4 separate regions of the Homo sapiens genome follow, and regions 2, 3 and 4 are each linked to region 1. Evidence: promoter capture Hi-C in 16 types of primary human blood cells and fetal thymus (Javierre and others, 2016). All regions are on one chromosome and are shown on one strand. The core of a region is centred on a gene start or on the middle of the fragment in contact, and the rest is flanking DNA. Distances in the headings are between cores, read along the strand shown. Region 1 holds the start of CSTF2T (cleavage stimulation factor subunit 2 tau variant). Region 2 overlaps SGMS1 (sphingomyelin synthase 1). Region 3 holds the start of LOC105378306 (a long non-coding RNA gene). Region 4 has its middle 9.4 kb from the start of SGMS1-AS1.

What was found. The method cuts DNA at HindIII sites, captures the fragments that hold promoters and counts their contacts. A CHiCAGO score of 5 or more calls a contact.
Region 2: a contact is called between a fragment that was not itself captured here and the fragment with the promoter of CSTF2T in region 1, in 5 of 17 cell types (naive CD8 T cells, activated CD4 T cells, non-activated CD4 T cells and 2 more). The highest score is 9.6, in naive CD8 T cells.
Region 3: a contact is called between a fragment that was not itself captured here and the fragment with the promoter of CSTF2T in region 1, in 1 of 17 cell types (fetal thymus). The highest score is 5.8, in fetal thymus.
Region 4: a fragment that was not itself captured here is called in contact with the fragment with the promoter of CSTF2T in region 1 in 6 of 17 cell types (non-activated CD4 T cells, naive CD4 T cells, total CD4 T cells and 3 more); the score reaches 9.5 in non-activated CD4 T cells.

Annotation. Positions count from the first base shown.
Region 1 is chr10:51,697,879-51,701,453 of GRCh38, forward strand. It overlaps CSTF2T (cleavage stimulation factor subunit 2 tau variant), which reads right to left and starts at 1,717. Exons shown (of 1, transcript NM_015235.3): 1 at 1-1,717. The coding sequence starts at 1,671. The region is part of intron 3 of PRKG1 (protein kinase cGMP-dependent 1); the gene reads left to right. RefSeq lists enhancers at 1,405-1,984, 2,109-2,797 and a silencer at 2,551-2,845. The HindIII fragment of the contact is 5,025 bases long and covers 1-2,729 here.
Region 2 is chr10:50,611,328-50,614,902 of GRCh38, forward strand. The region is part of intron 1 of SGMS1 (sphingomyelin synthase 1); the gene reads right to left. Among named protein-coding and RNA genes, the nearest start is that of SGMS1, 11 kb to the right of the region's middle. RefSeq lists a silencer at 3,350-3,479. The HindIII fragment of the contact is 1,703 bases long and covers 865-2,567 here.
Region 3 is chr10:52,778,837-52,782,411 of GRCh38, forward strand. LOC105378306 (a long non-coding RNA gene) reads left to right here and starts at 322. Exons shown (of 4, transcript XR_945963.2): 1 at 322-707. It overlaps LOC105378307 (a long non-coding RNA gene), which reads right to left. Exons shown (of 4, transcript XR_945965.3): 4 at 3,305-3,575. The HindIII fragment of the contact is 3,116 bases long and covers 76-3,191 here.
Region 4 is chr10:50,632,603-50,636,177 of GRCh38, forward strand. No RefSeq gene overlaps it. Among named protein-coding and RNA genes, the nearest start is that of SGMS1-AS1, 9.4 kb to the left of the region's middle. The HindIII fragment of the contact is 4,046 bases long and covers 1-3,575 here.

The sequences.
Region 1 (3,575 bases), core at 467-2,966:
GCTTCCACCTTGCTTGCTTGCCCCCTGTATACCTCCTCCTTGTATACCTCCTCCTTGTATACTGACTCCTTGTATGCCTGCCCCCTGCATCCCTCCTCCTTGTATGCCTGCTCCCTGCATGCCTGTTCCTTGTATGCCTGTACCCTGCATACCAGCTCCAGGATTCCCCACCCCTGAAATGCCTGGGACCTGTCTGGGTCCCTGAGGAGGGCCACCTGCCCCTATATTAATGGGACCAGGACCCTGAATTCCACCAGTCATAGGGCCTCTTGAACTGGGGACAGGGCCCCTCATCTCCAATCCTCTTGCATCCATGCCCCTTGCTTCCATCCCTCTGGTTTCCATCGCACAGGTCTCCATTCCTCTCCTCTCCATTACACGTGTCTCTAAGACCTCAGTTTCCATGGCACGAGTCTCCATCGCTCGAGAATCTCTACCACCTCTACCATCCATAGGTAGACCCCTTTGATCTATCATGGGGCCTCTGGGCTCTCCAATTAGCAGTCTGGGATCTCCTAATGGCCCTCCCCTCATCTCATGTGAGGAAGGGCCACGAGTGTCATGACCAGAGGCATGATGCATGGGGGGACCCTGATGGGGTGGACCCAGATAACCTCTGGGCTCCACTTCTCCAGTGACTGAAAGCAAAGTCCCTCCACGTGGGTCATTTGGAGCATCTCCTAACAGTCCTCGAGGAGGCAGACCACCAGGAGTCACGGGTCCGCGAGGTATAGGAGCTCTAGGATCTGACATCTGCACTTGTCCCCGCTCTAAAGGCACTGGGCCAACCCCTGGCATTCCAAGTTGGGGCTGCATTGCTCCTCCAGGAGTTAAGGAACCAGGACCAGCTCCGGGAACTGCAGCTGGTATTGGCCCTGGAGCTGGAATTCCACCCTGGATAGGAGTCTGCATCAGAGGAGGAATGTCCTTCACAGGTCTTCTAGCCAAATGCTGAGGCTGAGGAGCTGGAGGATTCTGCTGGTTCAGCAGAACATTAGGTCCTGGGCAGAGCCCAGGGCCAGGGCCAGGGCCAGGGCCAGAGACAGACACAGACTGAGATTTGCCTGGGATCAGTGGTGTGACATGTATCTTCCGATGCAGAATTTTCAGAGCAATCTCTGGATCCATGATTCTCATCACTACTTGTGCCTGCAACAGTGCATAAGCCAGTTGTGGATTTTGAAGTAACATGTTTCGAGCTTCCTGGTGGCTGTTTTGGACACAGAGCTTCATCTGCTTCATCAGCTCAAACATCTGCTCCGGGGGGAGACTGGCTACTGCTCTGGTAATCGATTCAGGGGCATCTTCTGGATCGATGGGATCCCCATAGGGTGAGTCAATAATGGGCGCTGCAGGCCCAAGGCTCTTTAACTCCTCCTTATTCTTTTCACTGGCAGCATTGTCCACCCGAAGCGCTCTCCCACTGAACTCCCGCCCATTGAGGTTCCGCATGGCACTAAGCGCGGTCTCCTGGTCTTGGTATTCGCAGAAGCCATAGCCCTTGGGTTTTCCCGTCTCTCTATCGTATACCAGCCGGAAACTGACAACAGAACCAACCTCCGAGAAAATGTCCTTTAACTGCTCCTCAGTTGCCTCATATGGAATGTTCCCCACGAACACGGAACGCAGTGATCGATCCATTGCCGGGTCTCTCACCGCCAAACTCGACATGATTCCGGTTGTGCAGACAGCCGATAGCGGATTCTTCGAGGCGTCTGTCCTCTTGCGACCGACACTTCCGCTGAGCAACGGAAGCGGCTTTCAAGATCCGGGCAGAAACTTTACTAATTCGCTTGAATCGTTCCGCTTGCCTGTGGAACCTGCATCCCACTAACAACTTATCTAATGCTTTCAGTCCCTGATCCTTCATGGTTCTGTCAGCTTCTTATTACAGAGTCGCATGATTCCTTTCCCATTTCACGTTCCGCTGACTTTCTGTGGGGCCCCAACAGCCCCACTACGACACGCTTGGTACGAGATGACCACAGTAAAGATGGCCGCATAGACTTCACCGTAGTAACTGGGAGGGGACTCTTCCCTTGACGTCAAAGGCGGTTTTGCTTCCGTTCCGCTGGCGGGAAACCGCCAACCGAAAGCGGATTTAAGGCGGCGTGTTTTTCGTTCTGACAAAGTATTTTCATGTGGCCTTTTATTATAGTATAGTTAAGCTAGATTTAAAATCACATTCCAGACTGAGGGAAAAGCGTAGTCGTTTCAGCACATTTGAGATTTGCCCCTTAAACTAAAACAGTATTATATCTCCTTTTTAGAACAACGTTTTTGGAAATTAACTGACAAGAAATATAAACTGAAGCGTGTGCCGGCTGGGCCCTGCCCCCATTCTGTTGCTTCCTATAACCGCTGTTAATGGATGGGTGGCAGACCCTTCTAGGTTTTTCCTGAGCACACGGGCAGCCGTCGTGCTATTCCTAATATTACGGTTTTCTTCCTTAATAACAACCGATTTCAATATTAATTGGTGATTAAATAAATTAGTGATTAATTAGTTATTAGTATTTTATGGCTTCAGAGTATGGAATAAAGAAATTTACTTAACTATCCCTACGTTGATTGGTTCTGATTTTTATTATATCATGCAGTGAGTCCACCACTTCCATGAAGGGAGAAACAAATAGCGGGTGTTTGTCTTCTGCTGTTAGCTTTGCAGGTAGGAGTTAAAACATATTCAGTGTGGTGTTTCCCCGCCTGCAATTCGAAGCTAGAACTGAAGCTTGGAGAGGGCTAGGTAAATTCCCAAGGACAAGCAGCTGGAAAGAGGCCAAGTCAGGATTCTAACCCAGCTTGGTCTCGCATAGCTCCAATTCTACACTGCCTTACGTGTATTGAATATATGAAATGAAGCTAGTGTGATTGAAGAAATGAATTTTAAATCTCATTTTTTATTTAAATATAAAAACTAATGTTCAGTAAGCTATTGGAAAACTTTTTTAGTATTTAGAACAACTTGGATATAGAATCTACTTTTGCAATAATAAATTGTGTTCTAAATAAAAATCATTTTGAAGAACACTAAGACAAAAAATAAAAACAAATAAAAAGAAAGTATTTCCAGTCAAAATTTAACATACTGGTTGAGGTGTGCCATACATGTAACATACATGAAAGATTTTAATGATCAAATACAAAAAAAGTAAAAATAGCCCATCAATTTTATATTTTTTATAAGTCGAAATGTAATATTTTTATATATTTGAGTAAAAAATTATTTTGAAGTTAATGTTATTCATTTCATTTTACTTTTTTAAATGTGGCTATTAGAAAATTTAAAATTATATGGATAGATTGCATTATACTTCTGTGGACTGGACTGCTCCAAGCCTGTGCTTTAATTCCAAAACAGAGAATTATTTTATTCTGAAATATGCCTCTTAAGTGGATTATGAAACTTTTAAATTTCAGCAAAAAAATTGTATTATGTATCTTCAGTATCCTATTCCAATGAATAGATTTGACATGAGTATGATGGTTTAGCTGCAAATAAGACATCCATTTACCTTCAAGTTTTTGAAACAGTTCTGCACTTAGCTGTTCACCCAAGATGCGCGACAGTTTAT
Region 2 (3,575 bases), core at 466-2,965, 1.1 Mb before region 1:
TCTTCACACCACGACACTTGTGACAGAGTGGTTATTATCCCCATTTCACATGAGAAAGCCACTGCCCCAAAAGGATTTAAACCCAAGCCCACTGTTCTTCATCACTCCTCAGCTGGCTTTCAAAATCAGGGCCCCTGGGTCCTTGCCTTCCCAGTTCCTGTTATCTAGAAGACCCTGGGTGTCCTGACATCTTACAAATGGCTCAGAAATTGCATTACTACCTCACCAGTGTGCTTGGACAGCCAGCAGCATCTTTCCTCACTGCCCTCACCTACTCTGCCTCTGTCTCAGATGACCAGGACAGCCTGACTTGGGCTGAAGGCCGTGGGTCCTCTATACAGACTGTTTCTTTCACAATCCTCTTCTGGTCCCATGGCCTTTTCTCCAGCATCCCAAGCATCTCTGCTCTCCAGTCATCCTCCACCTGCCTGTGCACCTTCATCCCTGCCGCTGCCCCCTGCCTTTCCTCCACCCTTCCCTCTCCCCTCCTGGTTTCCTCAGGAGTAAAACATTCCTCTTCTCTGTTGGCCTCAGACACACTGGCACCCCCCATCCCCTTTTCCAACTCCTGCCTAAACTGTCAGCCTGTGTCTGTTAGGGGGAAAGAAGCTGTGGGCAAAGCCTGCCTTCCCACCCTATCTCCCTCCCAGTCCTGATTTCTCCTGCCTCTGCTGCTTTCACCCAGCCCCCTGCCAGTGGGGTGGGTACCACTTCAGCTAGCCCTCCCCACCACTTCCTTAGGAGATAGTTTTCTTGAGGTTTGTTCTCTACCATCCTGCCCCAGGGCTTTTTTCTTCAATCCCTCCATCTCCATCTGTGACTATTGGGAACTCCCTTCCAAATTTAAGCATCTTCCACCTGCCAAGCTTAGCTGAGGATCCTCCACCCCTTAACCTGAGATTTGTTATAACATCCCGTCTTCATGGATTCACATAGAATACCTGCATGAAACTTTTAGAAGACTGAACATCCACATTTTGCTCCCTTAATGGAGACAGCCTGCCAGAAGGAATATCCATTACAACCTGGGAAATGCAAACAGCTTATTGCTATTTCTATAAAGTGGTCTGGACATGAAATTAAATAGGACTGGGGAAGGTAGTGCTGAAATCAGCTTCTTTTGTTAATGAATAATAAGCAGCTGGCGAAAAGGAGGAGTGGAGGGGAGAAAAAAGAAAACAAGGAACTGGAACCACTGAAAACACAAATGAAAGGGGAATTTCACACTTAGCCAAAAATTCAGGGAAAATAAAATAAAACTTTGTTTTTAATAGAGTCTTTCTTTTAAAAGTTGATTTATCTTAAAGATAGAAAGTCGTTAATCTTCTCCAGGTTTTACATTCCTAGCAGACAGCTAACATTTAGCCACTTTGTTGTTTGTTGTTGTTGTTGTTGTTCTGAGACAGAGCCTCGCTCTGTCGCCCAGGCTGGAGTGCAGTGGCGTGATCGCGGCTCACTGCAGCCTCTGCTTCGTGGATTCAAGCAATTCTCCTGCCTCGGGCTCCTGAGTAGCTAGGATTACAGGCGTGCGCCTCCATGCCAGGCTAATTCTTGTATTTTTAGTAGAGATGGGGTTTCACCATGCTGGCCAGGCTGATCTCGAATTCCTGACCTCATAGCCACGTTTTTTAAAAACAAAGAAAGTAAACTCTTAAGTACTCTTGTAACTCCCCAAGTAGTTTTGAAGTGCAGTCCCAGCTCTGATTCTCCCTTTGGGGGCTGACCACTTATAGCACACATCTTCCTAGGCTTGTCTCTGCTGTCAGGATTATGTCACTAAAAATGAAAACCTCATGTGGCTTTCAACCCTAAAACAAAAGAAAATAAAAACCAAAAAAATGCCACTTCTGGCTCCATCTACACTGACCTATGGTATGGATTCCCTTCTGTGCACTCTGCTGACACAGGGAAACTGGGCAGGTGACCTCTGTCCAGTCATCCCACCCCTGACCCAGGGAGGCTAGGTGTGCAGCTTTGATACTGTACTCACTACTTGGTGATGACATCATCTGTGGACATGTCTGTCTCCCCACTAATCCCTCAAAGACCCAGACCCCATCGCACTCATCTCTGTATCTCAAAGCTCACCAGGGAAACTGGCCCATAGGGGATTTTCAACACATATTTACTGCCACTGTCAACCCTGAGTTATAAAATGACCAGACTGGAGAGTGTCTCCACACCTGAACAGGCCTCTCTAGCCTCTTCAGTCGGCCCCTGGCAATCCCCCCATCCTCTCTGCCCTGCCACATTCCCTCACCAAGCAAACGAGCTGTTACAGGCTGACAGGGTCACAGGAGAGTCCTGATAACTAGCACAGAGAAAAATCTAAACCAGTGTTCCTTCCCAAATACAACTTACTTGTATTGTTCACCTCCGAGTTCTTTCTAAATCCTGAGTTCCTACAAAATATTTAAATTATAAAAGGTTTTCGTCCCGAGGTTTTATATATGTAACATTCTTTCAAATAGGAAAAAGTGTAGCCTGGATTGCAAGACAGAAAACTTCTGCTATAATAATAACTATTCATACTTCTTGAGAGCTTAATGTGTGTAGGTGCTGTACTAAGCTTGGTACACATTGTAGCTATGTGACCTCGTGGCAGCTGGAGGAAAGCTGTACAAAGCTCTTTTTTCCTACAAACACAGTTTTCTGCTATAATTAAACTAGGCAAATAAGATTATCTTCTGCCTCTCCACTGTCAGGTTATGTATCTCAATATACTTTTAATTTGTCTGTGCCTAAATTCCTCCATGGGGATAAGTGGTGAACAGGAAGTCTTTCTTTTTTTTTTTTTGCCAATGGAAGGGGGAATGAAAAATAACAAAAATAAATGAGGCCATCTTCCTAAGATGGGATGTAATGATGGCACTCCAAGCTTCTAATGAGTGCTGACTTATATTTCCAAGTTTTCTCTCCACCTTGGGATCATCTCTCCTGAGCCATGCCAGAACCACTGGTGAGCAGGAAAAGCAAGTTTCTGCTCTGGACTGGCTCAGACACCCCTCTGCTGTCCTAGATAAACAGGACCACATGAGTTCAGTTTTTATTTCATGAGGCGGAAGGCACTTCCAATGTCTAAATCTGAAATCATCCCACCTGACTGTAACTAGAAGTAGTAGCAGCTGGCTCCTCGCTGACATGGGCACTGCTGATGGCAGTGGTTGGCAAAGAGTGGTCCCCAGACCAGCAGCATGACAGTATCCAGGAACACATTAGACATGTCAACTGCCCACTGCCACCTGCCCCAAGCTCTTTGCCTCAGAAACTCTGGCAGAGGTGGGTCCCAGCCCTGGGCGTTGTAAGCAGCCTTCGAGTGATTCTGATACACGCTGAAATCTGAGAGCCACTGGCTTCACCTGATAAACATCTGAGGTCATGGGAATGCCCTGCTGGGCTAACCTGTGTATTACAACGCTTTATGTAAAGGTACTGGCTCTCCACCAACAGTACCTACTTCTGTTATTTCTGCCACCTGGCAAAGGCCCCAAACACTAAACTCCAGGGCATTCTTTTTCCTACTTTCTTGGGCAAATTACTTCTGTCCCACTCTCTTTGTCCTCAAAAAAGGTATG
Region 3 (3,575 bases), core at 384-2,883, 1.1 Mb after region 1:
ACTCCCGAGGGGGCCTCCCGAAACTGCAGGAGCCCCCTTCTTCTTGCCATGTCTCTCTAGCGCCCTCTACTGAGAAGCTTTGCATCGTGCTCACTCGAAAAACGCTGAAAGGAATTCTGTGGTTTAATCACAGAGCATGTTTTGAAGGGTAAATTGGGAGCTGAGAGTCCTTTGATGCCTGGCACAGTAGGTGTGTCCGCATCGTCGTGCACACGGTAAGTCCACAGGCCCTGTGTGCTCCCTTTGTCTGCAGCTGTGACATCAAGGGTCCCTCCAGCCCGGCCTCGCGGCAAAGCTGAGCAGCAAAGGAAGGCAGAGGGGTGGGCCTTGCCGGCTTTGGGCCCAGAGGCTGGAGGCTGGGCTCCCTCTTTCTTCCCTTCCTCCTTTCCTCTTTCCCTCCTTCCTTTCTTCCTTGCTTCTCCCTCCTCCCCTCCCTGCCTCCCTCCTCCCATCTCTGTCTCCCTCTTCCCCTCCCTGCTTCCCTCCTCCCCACCTTCCCTCCCTCTTCCCCTCCTTCCCTCCCTCTTCCCCTCCTTCCCTCCCTCTTCCCCTCCTTCCCTCCCTCTTCCCCTCCTTCCCTCCCTCCTCAAGCACAACACATCCACATCGGCCCCCAGCCCAGCGCAGCTTTAAGAGACCCACTTACCTCAGAGGAACCCAATCAATCCCCACAAACACCTCTCTAGAATAGGAAGATGGAGATACAGGTGAGTCTGTCCTGGACAGAAAAGTAGAGACCCTGGAGGAGAGTGCGTTGAATTGATTGAGAGTGAACTGCCTATTGAATTGGAGGTGGGGGACGGTCGGGGAGGGTTAAGGGAGACCTTCTCTTCCAGAAGGGCCAAGGAAAGGCTGGTTCCACAGGGCTGGCTGGGCTACAGACCAGCTGCCTCTCCCCTCTGCATACAGTTGGGTACCCAGTCACCAGACCCCCCAAGTGAGGGGGTCAGGAAGGTGTCACGGACAGATGTACACATATCTCATTTTCATTCCACTCCATCCTGACCTGAGGGTTGTGACTTAGACAAGCGCCCTCATCTTGTTGAGCCTCAGTTATTCAGCTGTAAATGGGCGGAAGGAGAGCATTTAGTAATGGTAAATATGTAAGAGTGCTAATCGGGAAGCTCTACCCACTGAGAAAACAAGAAAAAAAATTCTTGGCGCTGAAAGAGGACCAAGAAGGATTGCTTTCTGAGATAGGTGCGGACAGACACACGCAGACCTAGAATAACGAGGTCAGACTCACCCAGGAATACTTGGCCCCAAGTTGACTCCCCTGTTTAAAGAGCGATAGAATGGTGGAGAGGGAGGATTGTCTTCTCAGGCGGCTCTGTATGGCCTCCAGGGGCCATGGTGAGGGATGGGGGTATCCTGGCCCTGAAGGCCCAGGGCACTTGAGGGAAGAACAAACTTTGCTGTGTCCCACAGGGAAAGTATGGGTCAGCCCTGCCATCTTGTGGCCATGCTTAGGACTGCAGGGGGCCAAGGGATACCCTGAGAGATCAGAGTACATTTCAAGGAGAAAGAAAAGCATTGCAAATGTTAGGTGTAGTAAAGATCTTGGCATTTGAAAGACTAAATCCAGACTCGGGTCTCTGGAACTTCCCAGGGTGCCAGGCATCTCGCAAATAGTAGTGCTGTCTCTCCTCTCCTCCCTTTCCAAGATGTGAGCTCTGGGCTGCAGATTCTGGGCCTGGATTCTGGTCTCCTCGTTCTGGGAGCTGCTCTCTGGGCTGACCCCAGGGCCTTGATCTAATTTTTTTCTTTGAAACTTGAGTTCTAAATTTGGGGTCTGGTCCCTGTCCTGACTGTCTAGCCTCAGTCCATCTATCTCTGGGCTTGGTTGTTTGAGATCATGGCTGAAGGTTAGGAGATCAGAGCTCCTGGTCTCTGCTCTGGTCTCTGAACTTAGACCTCGGGAATCAGGACACCAAGCCCTTGGTCATGGCTCATGCTACGTGGATGAACTCTGGGCTCCATTTGACTTTGTGGTCTCTACCCTCTGGATAGGCAGGAGTCTATGTTGTAAGCCCTGAACAACCAGTCACTGGATCTGCTCCAGGTCAGGTGGCTCTGGGGTCTGCTGGCTGGTGCTTCATTTGAGGCTACTCCTCCTCGAGGTTGTTGCTCTGGGCTGTGGGGTTAGGATTTTAGCCAGATTCTTCATGCCAGGCTGGAAACACAGGTAGCAGGTCTTGCATCTTGTAAAGGATAAAAGAGGCTCTTGCAGATACACAGGGAGCTGGGCCTGCCTGGACACTTCCTCCTCAGGAACTGCCCTAGGAAACATGGACCTGGCCAAAGATTTGTCCTGGGAGGATTGAGGGCCCACAGGCACATCCTGAAGAGATGCAGAAACTTGCCCATCCCTGATGTCTCAAGCCAGCCCAGATATAAACACAGAAATGGAGACAGACAACTTCAGACATTGGACTGTGAGATGAGGAGAGAGGGTCGGGCTCACTGTGGTCATCCTATCCTGTATCTTTCACACTGCCTGAAACATGGGACCACAGCAAACATTTGTTAATCAATAAAAGCAATGAGCTATGAGAGAAAAATTAGAAAGATGTAGAAGGACAAAGGGAGGGAGAAGGAACAGGCATTTGTTGACTAACTGATATGTGCTTCTGTGTGCTAGTTGCTTTATAGGTAATACCTCACTTAATTCACACAACGCCTTGAGTTGGTATACAGTATGTCATCTGTGTTGAGGTGACAAGGCCCTTCCCAGGTTCCACGATTCACTAGGAGGACTCCTGGGACTCAGCCTATAGTCATACCCATGGCTATAATTTATTTACTTATTTATTTATATGAGACGGAGTCTTACTCTATTGCCCAGGCTGGAGTGCAGTGGCACAATCATGGCTCACTGCAACCTCTGCCTCCCGGGTTCAAGCAGTTCTCATGCCTCAGCCTCGCAAATAGCTGGGATTACAGACATGTGCCACCACACCTGGCTATTTTTTGTATTTTTAGTAGAGACAGGGTTTCACCATGTAGGTCAAGCTGGTCTCAGACTCCTGACCTCAGTGATCCACCCGCTTTGGCCTTCCAAAGTGCTGGGATTACAGGCATGAGTCACTGCACCCAGCTATGGCTATAATTTATTATAGTGAAAAGATGCAAAGCAAAATCAGCAAAGGGAAAAAGGTGCAGGAGGTGAAGTCTGGAGGAAACCAATTGCAAGCTTCCAAGAGTCCTCTTTCAGTGGAACCACAGAGGGTATGCTTAATTCCTCCAGCAACAGACTCTGACAACATATGTGTAATATTATGTACGAGTGAAGCTCATTAGAGACTGAGTGTCCAAAGTTTTTATTGGATGTTGGTCACTTTCTGCCTAGCATGCACCAAAATTCCGGACTCCTAGAAGGAAAAGAGGTGTTTAGCATAAATCATATTGTTTGTATAACAGTTTAGGTACAGTGAGCCACTCTTGTAAGTTCTGGGAATGGTGGGAACTCTTGAGAAATACAAGCTCCCAGACTTCAGCCAAAGGCCAACCTTGCAAGTAGGCCTCTAAAAATAATAGTCTCGGGCCTACTGTGTGCAATTTTTCTTCACCTTGAG
Region 4 (3,575 bases), core at 768-3,267, 1.1 Mb before region 1:
AAATCTAGGCTAGGCTACAGGAAGAACAGCAGCAACTGAAGACTGGCACCTTTTCTGGAACCTCAGCAGCACCTTCCTTGTTTCGTAAGATTTCGAAGAAGCATATCAAAATTCTTCCACCCATTCCTTCACAGTATAATAGGAGAAAACATCTATCCTCCGTTGACACCTGGAAGAATGAGATTCCAACTCACTCCAGGACATGGCCAGAAAAATTCAACAAAAGATTTGCTAAATCCTCTGCACTATTATCTAGACCAGGATTTCTCAACCTCAGCTCTGTGGACATTTGGGCCAGATAATTCTTTGTTACCAGAGGCTGTCCTGTACATCATCAGGTGTTTAGCAGCATTCCTGGCCTCAACCAAATGGATGCCAGTAGCACCTCCCCCACCCACTTGTGACAGCCAAAGATATCTCCAGACATTGCCAAATGTCCCCTGTTATGGAGAATCATCCTCAGTTGAGAATCACTGGTTTAGGCAATGATCAAAGTGGGGCAACTAAATCAAAAGGCACTGCAATCTTAAGTTGATCAAGCATCCTTCTTTGAAATCACTCAGCACTTTCATATATTGCATTTATATCTTAGGTATTCATATTCTAACAATTCAGCCAATGTTTTTTGAGTTCGCAATGGACAAGGTACAAGATCAAGTAAGTAATTCTGTGTATCCATAAAACAGAAATGGATATGGTATGTCCCAGTTCTCCACAGTAGGCATTTATGTTATTCCCATCCCAATATTTAGCCCTGATCAGGGTTGTCAAACATTGCATGGGACATACTTATCCTAAAAAATTATTCATTATTTATCTGAAATTGAAATTTAACTGGATGTCCTATGTGTGTGCATGTGTATGTTTGTTTGTTTGTTTCTTTTTCTAAATCTGATTACCCTATCCTAACAGACTCAAGGTTTTTTCCCTGTTCCACAAACTTTATGACTTGACTTCATTAAAAATAATAAAGAGGAATAACTGCAAAGGCTTTAAAAATGCTGTTAGAATGAGTAGCACAACTGAATTTGAGGATACATTTTCTTTGAAGGATGTCTATTTTCCTACTGAAAATAGTGGCAAACTCCTTAGAACTCATTCAAAGCCTGATGGGATTCATTGCCTGATTTATTTAAAAACACTTCTGATGCTCACAGACTATTTATCATTTACACAGCAAATGATGTTCTTCTAGTATTCTTGTTGGGTGAGTTAGCATTGTGGAAGGACATAGAGGAGAATCAGACACAAACTTCTTATAACCTCATAAACAGGAAGAAAGGGAGCAGAAGCATAGACTGACTTTACTTTCACTCAGCTTACCTTCCTAGTTCTCCAGGTGTGGTCCTCAGAAGAGGAATATCATGTGACCTGGGAACTTGCTAGAAATGCACATCCTTGGGACCCACCCCGGACCTACTGAATCAGAAACTCTGAGAGTGGGTCCTAGCAACCAGTGTTTTCACAGGCCTTCCAGGTGATTCTTCCGCATGTTCGAGTTTGAGAACAACTGCTTTAGAGCCCTGGTTCTTGACCCTGGCTACAGGGTAAAACACCTGGGGAGTTTTTAAAATACTGATGCATGGGGTCCATTCCAAGGGAGTCTGATATAATTACTATGGGGTGCAGCCCAGGCGTAAACATTTTTTAAAAACTCCTCAACCAGAATAACGGCTCTACAGAAATTTTATCAAATGCCAAAGAAAGAGTTCCTTATTTTGCAACTATAGTGCTTTCTACTCTGGCCCTAATCAACTTTCATAAAGGCAGAATGGACAGACATTACGTGTTTTAATTTGAAGACTACCAAAAGGCCGGCCATTAAACTAGGTATATGGGCTCGTCCTCAAATCCCTAAATCTACTCCTTAGGACCTACTATAGCCAGTGTCATATAATAGAAAAGTCACTTATTGTCCACCAGACCCTGCCCTAATATTTGATAACCTCTTGGGGCCTCATTTTCTTGTGTCTACACTGGGGATGATATTAACTCTTCACAGGATTTGGGGAATTATAAAGAAAGACCATGTAGTAAAGGCAGGAAGATCAATAATCAATAATCACATCAGAACCTGAAGGGACTTCGTACCATTGAAGTGAGGCAGAGGAGAGAGAAATTTAGAAGGACAAATTCACAAATTTCAATGTGTTTCTATAATAACTACTTAAATTATTTTCTCTTTGAATTGCCTCACTGTTGTGTGTGTATGTCCCCACTCCCACCTGTCCCATTATTTTCCTGTTTTCACTTGTACCTTGGCAACCCATCTGTGGTTTTGGCCAAGCTGTTTTAATGGCATTGAACCTGGTAGTTTTTTTAAAAGAGTGTGGTAGTAGTTATATATGGCTCGATAACTCCTGGGGCTACAACAAGGTTAATGCGACAGTTTTTGTTGTTTAAAAAACATGCTTGTCTGACAAGTCAATCATTTTAAGCCCCTTGTTCACTTCAGGATGGTTGCTAAAGGCTTCTCTGTGAGCTAAAAGCTCTCGCTGTTAAGGGGCTGCCTGCCCTGACTGTATGCATTAAATGGAACAGTTCTCTACATGGTTTCTTACTACAGATGCCTTGGGATATATGGACACTGGCATTACCTGCTGCAACAGGTCCTCTCCCAGGGTACTGCTGAGACCTAAGGGCTTAAATGCTCACCAAACCAAGTGACCTTGGAGGGCTGGTCATGGTGGGCATCTGGGAGCTGGGAAAGAGCATTGGAGAACTTCATAGGGAAACCTAGTAGGCAAAAATGAAAGAACCCATAAGGGCCATTGGCATGAGCCATAGCTAAAGGCCACTGGGTTAGCTCTCAAAGAAAACTGCAAGATTGAAGCATAAATTCCTTCATCATGAACCAGAAGTCATGGAGTGGAGCCAGGGGCAAGAAAGAGAAAGATGAAGAGGTAGAACCACCAGGATAAAGGTGCCAAGAAAAACAGTGAGAGCAACACTCAGGGAACCAGAGACAGGAACACAGCTGGGAACTAGGAGGAGAAACCACCACAGCTGGAGCGCAAAGTGGCCAGGTCAGAAAAGCCTCATGGAATCCTGGTTAACTGAATGTTTCTATTGACTGAGGCCACTGCTTAAGCCCTGTATTCTTTTTTATTTCAATCCCCATGGTTAGAAAAATAGTCCTAAAATGGGTTCATACCCTTTCCTATCCTGCAAGATCTTAAACATCACTATCTTTTCCTGCAGTAGTTAAAAGCATGGGCTTTGGAATCAGAAACTGGGCACAAATCTGAGCCCTGCTACTTATTAACTGTGTAACATTGGTCAAATGAATAAACTTCCTGGAGCCTCAGTTTCCTTGCCTGTAAAATGTGAGTAACAATACCAACTTATTTTCAGGTTGTGAGCATTTCTCCATAATAATCCACATAAAACACTTACCAGAGCCCTTGGCATACTGTGTGAGCATGTAATAATGTTAGCTGTCATTCCAAGACAACATGTTGGAATAATCTACTTTTTCCATCACTATATATCTCATTTTCCTTCTTTTTCTTCTCCCTCAAACCTGTCCCCATTCCAACAGATGTTTTGGCCTGTGTTCCTAGCCTCCAGTGACA